Regions from separate parts of the Homo sapiens genome. Here region 2 is linked to region 1. Evidence: promoter capture Hi-C in 16 types of primary human blood cells and fetal thymus (Javierre and others, 2016). All regions are on one chromosome and are shown on one strand. Each heading gives the region's core, a stretch centred on a gene start or on the middle of the fragment in contact. The rest is flanking DNA. Distances are from core to core; before and after follow the strand shown. Region 1 holds the start of KCNE2 (potassium voltage-gated channel subfamily E regulatory subunit 2). Region 2 overlaps LINC00649 (long intergenic non-protein coding RNA 649).

Evidence for each region. Contacts are between HindIII fragments. The CHiCAGO score rates a contact against its expected background, and 5 or more counts as called.
Region 2: a fragment that was not itself captured here is called in contact with the fragment with the promoter of KCNE2 in region 1 in 1 of 17 cell types (naive CD8 T cells); the score reaches 5.2 in naive CD8 T cells.

Annotation. Positions count from the first base shown.
Region 1 is chr21:34,361,566-34,365,266 of GRCh38, reverse strand. It overlaps KCNE2 (potassium voltage-gated channel subfamily E regulatory subunit 2), which reads right to left and starts at 1,261. Exons shown (of 2, transcript NM_172201.2): 1 at 1,116-1,261. All of the region lies in intron 2 of LOC105372791 (a long non-coding RNA gene), which reads left to right. The HindIII fragment of the contact is 16,740 bases long and covers 1-3,081 here.
Region 2 is chr21:33,970,094-33,973,865 of GRCh38, reverse strand. It overlaps LINC00649 (long intergenic non-protein coding RNA 649), which reads right to left. Exons shown (of 3, transcript NR_038883.2): 3 at 2,680-3,772. Among named protein-coding and RNA genes, the nearest start is that of LINC00649, 41 kb to the right of the region's middle. RefSeq lists a silencer at 1,804-2,098 and an enhancer at 1,497-2,186. The HindIII fragment of the contact is 2,511 bases long and covers 1,065-3,575 here.

The DNA.
Region 1 (3,701 bases), core at 12-2,511:
ACCTAGGAGGACCTACATTTCCAGTGAATGCTTCTTGCTGAGTCCTAGCACAGGCTGGGCCCCTGGAGATCATTTAGGCTGGTTTGCTCTCTGATAGGTGGAATAACTATAGCCTAGAGGGCTTAAGTCACCTGTCCAAGATCACAAGCCTCTCAAGTTGGCCACAGTGCCTGGACTAGAACTCACATCACCCAAGCCAGTGTCCAGCACTGACTGTCCTAGCAGAGGTCACACATTCCAATAACTCACTGTTTTCATTGCTGTGACCAGTTGGCTCAACTGGGTACAAGACATAAGATCAAGACCATGATTTGAGCTTACACATGTCATTAGTTGTGCCCTGTCTCCAGGCTACAGAATGATCCCCTAATTCCAGCCATTCCTGTCATGAATGTGTGTTATTCATGACAACAGCAATCAGGACACTATTAGGAAAGTAACACTCATTTGACCCCAAAGTCCAGAGTTTTCTTTTCTTTCTTTTTTTTTTTTTTGAGATGGAGTCTCACTCTGTCGCCCAGGCTGGAGTGCAGTGGCGTGATCTCGGCTCACTGCAAGCTCCACCTCCCGGGTTCATGCCGTTCTCCTGCCTCAGCTTCCTGAGTAGCTGGGACTACAGGCGCCAGCCACCACGCCAGGCTAATTTTTTTTGTATTTTTAGTAGAGATGGGGTTTCACTATGTTGGCCAGGCTGGTCTCGATCTCCTGACCTCAGGTGATCCGCCTGCCTCAGCCTCTCAAAGTGCTGGGATTACAGGCGTGAGCCACCGCGCCCAGCCCCAAAGTTTTCTTTTCTTGAAACATGGTAGATCGCTCACATCACCTGGGCCTATAAAAGGCAGCAAAGTCTTTCATTTTTATATCAAGAAGAGAAAACAATATGATTACCTACGTTTACCATGAATCCTCCATTTTAAAAACTCTCAAAATTTTCATTCTAAGGCAATTAACAAAGAAATGAGTAAGGAAAACACAAGAAGGAAAGAAGGAAGAGTGGATGAGGAGCCAGGCCATGTACCAGGAAAATCATTCCTTTTATCATTTTCTGGAAAAGGCACATAGATAACTTTGTTACTTAATTCCTCAAAAAATAAAGAATGTGTGCTAAGACTTACCTATGCAGTGTGTGGGCAGGATGAAATTCCTTTCCAAAGCCAGGCTGTTCTGAACCTTCTTGCTGGCGTTAGCGAGCTCTCTTCTGGGTTGCACACAAGCCTCAGCCTGCTGGGCACCTTCACCTTACAACCATCTAAGCCCTTGCAACTGCAGTCTGCAATCCTATGCTTTTATGAACCCACATGTTTAATCTAATCGTATGTGGAAAGTTAAATACTAACTGGCAGTTGGAATTCACCTTGGTGCCTGATGGGGTGTGTGCCTCAGGGACTCTGGCTTTGGGCAGAGTGGCACAAGTTCCTGCTCTGGGACCCTTCCTGCCAGCTCCAGCCAGGGCAGGGCCTGGGTACAGTGAACATCTTTCCCCAGAAGAAGTCTTCCTCTTAGGGTAGGCTTGGGGGACAACAGCATTCCCTGCCAGAATACGTGGGAAGGGCTGGGTGGGGTGGCTCACGCCTGTAATCCCAGCACTTTGGGAGGCTGAGGCGGGCAGATCACCTGAGATCAGGAGTTCAAGACCAGCCTTGCCAACATGGTGAAACCCCGTCTCTACTTAAAAATGTAAAAATTAGCCAGGTGTGGTGGCACACACCTGTAGTCCCTGCTACTCTGGAGGCTGAGGCAGGAGAATCACTTGAATCCACAAGGCAGAAGTTACAGTGAGCTGAAATCATACCACGGCACTCCAGGCTGGGTGACAGAGTGAGACTCTGTCTCAATGAAAGAAGAAAGAAGAAGAGGAAGAGGAAGAGGAAGAAGGAAGAAGAAGGAAGAAGAAGGAAGAAGAAGGAAGAAGAAGGAAGAAGAAAGAAGAAGAAAGAAGAAGAAGACGATGTGGGAAGGACAGGGCCCCAGGGAGAGGAGCCAAGAACAGCCATCTCTGGGTGGTTGGTATGGGTTGAGGGGGTCAGTATAATTCCAGGCAAGTGCCGTGTTCTGAAGACGCTAAATAAGCTAGATTCTGGTAAATACTCCTCCACGGGACCACATCCAAATGAGTTTATAACAACATTGTTGTCTTGTAAAAGAGAAACGGGCTGCAAGGGTACTAAGGTACTACATGGAGGAGCTGGAAGTTAAGTCCAACAAAGAGGTTTTGAGGTTTTTGTTTGTTGTTGTTGTTTTGAAACAGAGTCTTACTCTGTCACCCAGGCTGGAGTGCAGTGGCGCAATCATAGCTCACTACAGCTTTGAACTCTTGGGCTTGAGGGATCCTCCTGCCTCAGCCTCCCAAGTAATGGGACTACAAGTGTGTACAAAGCCTGGTTAATTTTTATTTTTATTTTTGTAGAAATAGGGTCTTGCTGTGTTGCCCAGGCTGGTCTCAAACTCTTGGCCGCAAAGGATCCTCCAGCCTCAGTCTCCTAAGGCGGTGGGATTACAGGTGTGAGCCATGGTGCCTGGCCCCCAGCAAAGTATTTAAAGACCTAGCAAGAGCTAAACATACTCTATTTACCAAAAGATCCTTTTCTATCATGGTGGGGACCCTTGGAATTGGGAGAACTGAGTCTTTATATTGGCTATCATTTAGGAGTGCTTACCATGTGCTTTTATCGTATTAACCTCAGGTAATCATTGCCACAACCTGATGTGGAAGGTACTGTGAACTTAGCCAAGGGAATCAGGGCACAAGAGGTCTGATGACATGGAGGTGGAGCCATTTGGATTTGAATCCAATTTAAATGGCAGCCACGGAAGTTACACTCACTCACTCAAAATCACTTCAAGGTCATGTGGGTGGTCATTACTCTGTAACTTGTCTCATGGTTTTGTAAAAGGAAGGTTCACTTTGTTTTAAAATTGGAGTTTCACATTAAATGGTGCTCTGAACCATGTGGCTTGAAGCACACTGGGTGGCAAGAGGAAGATAGCTAAGATTTAACATGATCTACAAATTATTGCAGAGTTAACGTTATTAGGTGTATTTTAAAGAAATACGAGGATCTCTGTAACTCCGCAAAAGCTTCTCATTAACACCATTTGTCCTCATGGGTTGTCTTCACTGAACAAGATAGGCAAACTCAGCCAGGAGGAACACTTTGGTGGTGTAACTGTGTTCACCATGCCTCTGCAGAAATGGAAGCAAAACGTTCAAGTAAGAATTCCGCTAGGAGACGGTGCCACCTGCTGGTGGGAACAGGGAACTGAGGCCAATCTTCTAACTCAGCCCTTGCGGTTTAACTTCACTCTTGAATTCTGGCGCCGAGGAGAGGGGAATCAAAGCAGCGTGTTGTGCTTTGGTAATTAAAGGCAGAACTGGACGGCGATGTGTCATGGAGGCTGGCAAACCAGGTGAGCAAATTACTTACTGTCCCTGGTCTTTGGATTCTTCGTCTGTAAGATAGAGATAAGAGTTCCTGCTCATTTGGCTTGTTATAAAAGTTAAATGTGATCACAGATATATACAGCACTTAGCACAGAACCTGGCACGAGGTAGGATAGTAAAATCTATAAATTGAAATGCAGCAAAATTCATTTCTTGTTTTAATAAAAGCAAATGTAGAATGTTTTACCCATTCAATGAAAAACTAGGTGGGAAAAAACACTTTAAGAAAAAACTTTTAAACAGAAATCACCAGCCGGAC
Region 2 (3,772 bases), core at 1,071-3,570, 390 kb after region 1:
ACTAGGGGAGTCAAAGAACATAAGCCCTCTTAAAGCACCTGAAAGGCAAGGAAAGCCATACAGATTTGAGGCAATGATCATACTTGAAATCACTCCCTTAAAGTGACTGAAAGAGTATCAGTTGGGCTCAAGCAATTAAACAATTGTCAAATGCATCAAGCATCTGTGATATGAATTCACAGGCACATCTGAGGAAGAGCCCAACAGTAATTCCTCATCTTGTGGCTGGACCTTGGGAGGACCCTTGGAATTCCCTGGGAGAGCTCTTATCTAGGACTGGCCCCCTCTCCTGCCAGGAGCCACCTTCAGAGACTGAGGGACTGTGAGTTCCTTCTCCCTAGCTCCTCCCTCGTAATTCCCAACATCTCTGACCACTGGCAGCTCTCCCCAGAGGCTGGAGGGCTACTGATGATTCCACGGAAGTGACTGCATGCACCGATCCTAACCCCCGATAACTCTAAGGATGCTAGGTAGGAATCTCCTTCCCAGGATCATAAAACTTGGTGGAGAGGAGGGGTTTGAAAAAGATTAATAACCTGCTAAGGACGTGACCAGACTGCCTTATTGAAAACAAGGGACTTGTGTGTGTCTTCTCTTCCCATTAACATCCCAACTGCCTGGTGAACAACCAGCTCGAGGAAAAGAAAAAGGAGATTTGCTGCTGTTGCTAGGACTAGGGCCCCAAATACATTAAGGCCCTTGATGGGGGAGTTAAGCCTGCCACCGTCCAGCGTTATGGGGTAAGCAAGCACTATCAGGTCTCTAAGTGGTAAACATAATTTTCCCACATGGGAGACACTAATCCACATCATGCTGAAAGCAAAGTTATAAAGTGCGGCTGTCCCACCCCACCCACCCCACCCCATCTCGGTCATGAGCATCCAGGTGCCTTTTCTTTTTAGAGACAGGGTGTCATTCTGTCACCCAGGCTGGAGTACAGTAGTGTGATCATAGCTCACTGCAGCCTCGAACTTCTGACTCAAGCCATCCTCCCACCTGCCTCCTGAGTAGCTGGAACCACAGGCACATCCCATCATGCTTGGCTCAGTTGCGTTTATGAAGCTTCTTCCACTCGGCTCTGAGCCTTGCTCCTGGAGTCATCCTTCGGCCAGGGCTGCTGGCACCTGAAGCCACTCTGGCCCCTGAACATCCCCCAGCCACACTAGTCCTGGCTCTCTTCTTCACGATGTCCATCAGGCAGAGACCAGCCAATGGGAGGTCAGACCCACCCTCCTCTGAACTCAGTGACATGTATGGGCTTTCATTATGTGCCTCTTCACAAATTTTATCTTTTTTCATTTTTGTGTCCCTTAGGATAGGAATTCCTAGCTCTACTTAATAGATGAGTGTGGGGCCGGGCATGGTGGCTCACGTCTGTAATCTCAGCACTTTGGGAGGCCAAGGTGGGGGAATCACCTGAGGTCAGGAGTTCAAGACCAGCCAGGCCAACATAGTGAAACCCCATCTCTACTAAAAGTACAAAAAGTAGCCGGGCGTGGTGGCAGGCGCCTGTAATTCCAGCTACTTGGGAGGTTGAGGCAGGAGAATTGCTTGAACTGGGGAGGCAGAAGTTGCAGTGAGCCGAGATCATGCCACTGCACTCCAGCCTGGGTGACAGAGCAAGACTCCATCCAAAAAAAAAAAAAAAAAAGATGAGTGTGGTAGGCAGAATAAAGTCCCCCAAAGACGTACACAGCCTGACCCCTGGGACCTGTGAATATTTCCCTCTGTGGCAAAAGAGACTTTGCAGAAGAGACCAAGTCAAAGATCTTGAGATAAAGATATTATTCTGGATTATCACAGCTTCTAAATGCAACCACAAGTGTTCTTATAAGAAGAAGGCAGAGGGAGATTTGACAGTAAAGAAGGCAATGAAACAAGGTGCTGTTCTGCTGGCTTTGAAGATGGGGGAAGAGGTCAACAATCAAGGAATGCAAGGAATGCAGCATTAGAAGCTGGCAAAGGCAAGGAAATGGGTTCTCCCAGAGCCTCCACGGGGATCTTGGTCCTACCAACATCTTGATTTTAGCCCAACGAAATTGATGTCAGACTCCTGACCTCCAGAACGCTAAGAGAATAAATGCATGTTGTTTTAAGTCCACACGTTTGTGGTGCTATATTACAGAGGCAATAGGAAAGTCATAAAATGAGTAAACAGAGACACGTAATGACTTGCTTCAAGTCACGCAGCAAGTCAGTGGAGCTGGAATTCACACTCTGGCTTTTGGATTCTAAGCCTCATATTCTTTCTGTTACACCATGCTGCTTCTGAGACTCTGCAGCAATTGAGAGTGTAATAATCGGGGAACAGATAAATTAGGTAATCAGTGTGTGTGTGTGTGTGTGTGTGTGTGTTAGCAGGATTAGACAATAGGGTACGAAAGAGAACATGTCATTGACTTGTACTTATCTCTCAAACTATCCAATGGAAAATTGAGAAACACCAAATACAAATTATAAAAAGGTATCATTAAGCTCAACATTTTGCCTCTGTTTTTCTGGTCACAGCGCAGTTGGTCTTCATATTGCAAAATAGTGATGATCTTGTTCTGTCCACGTGTTCACCTAAAGCACTGGTCTTACAGAAGGGTTTGAAAGAAAACAAATGGGCCAGGTGTGGTCGCTCACATCTGTAATTCCAGCAGTTTGGGAGGCCAAGGAGGGTAGATCACTTGAGATCAGGAGTTCAAGACCAGCCTGGCCAATATGGTGAAACCCTGCCTCTACTAAAAATACTAAAAATTAGCCGGGCATGATGGCACACGCCTGTAGTCCCAGCTACTCAGGAGGCTGAGACAGGAGAATTGCTTGAACCCGGGAGGTGGAGGTTGCAGTGAGCTGAGATGGCACCACTGCACTCCAGCCTGGGAGACAGAGTGAGACTCCATCTCTAAAAAAAAAATAGAAAATAAAAGATAAATAACTGTTCCTTGTGAGCCCTAACAAATAACAGAAAGTGTATAGAATAGATGCAAGCCGGGACTTGGGTCCTGAAGGCCAGAGTTCAATGTTTGCATTTCCTAAAGGAAATCTAGGGCAATCACATCTCTAACGGACAGCGGTCACTTTCGTGCCAGAGATAAGCCTTGAGCTCTTGCTCACTTGGTACATGTTGCATTTTCTCCTTCATTTTTAACTCCTCAGGAACCCCTAGAATGGTAAACTGGGAAGTCACCTCATTTAACTTAACAAGGAATCTGGGGCCCAGAGAGCTTAGGGGTGCCTCAGATGCTACTGGTTATGACCACGATCTGATGGGTCATCGTTACTTGAAGGGGTGAGCAGAGGCTTCGCTTAACTTCCTTAAGGCTCTCAATGGAAGAACCGCAAGTGTCTGTCCCCTTGTCATTTTCTGAAAAAGCAATTTATCATTAAGTCCTCCCTGTTGCTGAGCTATTCAATACTTTTTTACCTGTAAAAACTCCACTCTGGTTAGTTACTGCTTGGACATGATACCACAGCATTACCTGAGAGGTCACAACACATTTTATGTCTTTGGTCAGAAATAGAAAAACAGAAGCACAAGACCCCTAGCCAGAAGATGACAGCATGCCAGAGCTTAGTGTCACCAAGCTTTCCTTTCTATTTTTGGAAGCTTTAACTTATTAGGCAAACGTATCATCCAACAAACACTGGGAAATGTAAGTTGGAAAGGTCCCGCTAGTTGATTAAATTCCCTCATTCTCTTCCAAGGCTCTCCCCCAAAACTGAAAGCCCCGTATCAGCTCTCATAAGAATAATAGGAGGAAACAAGCATTTTCTAAGTCTTTGA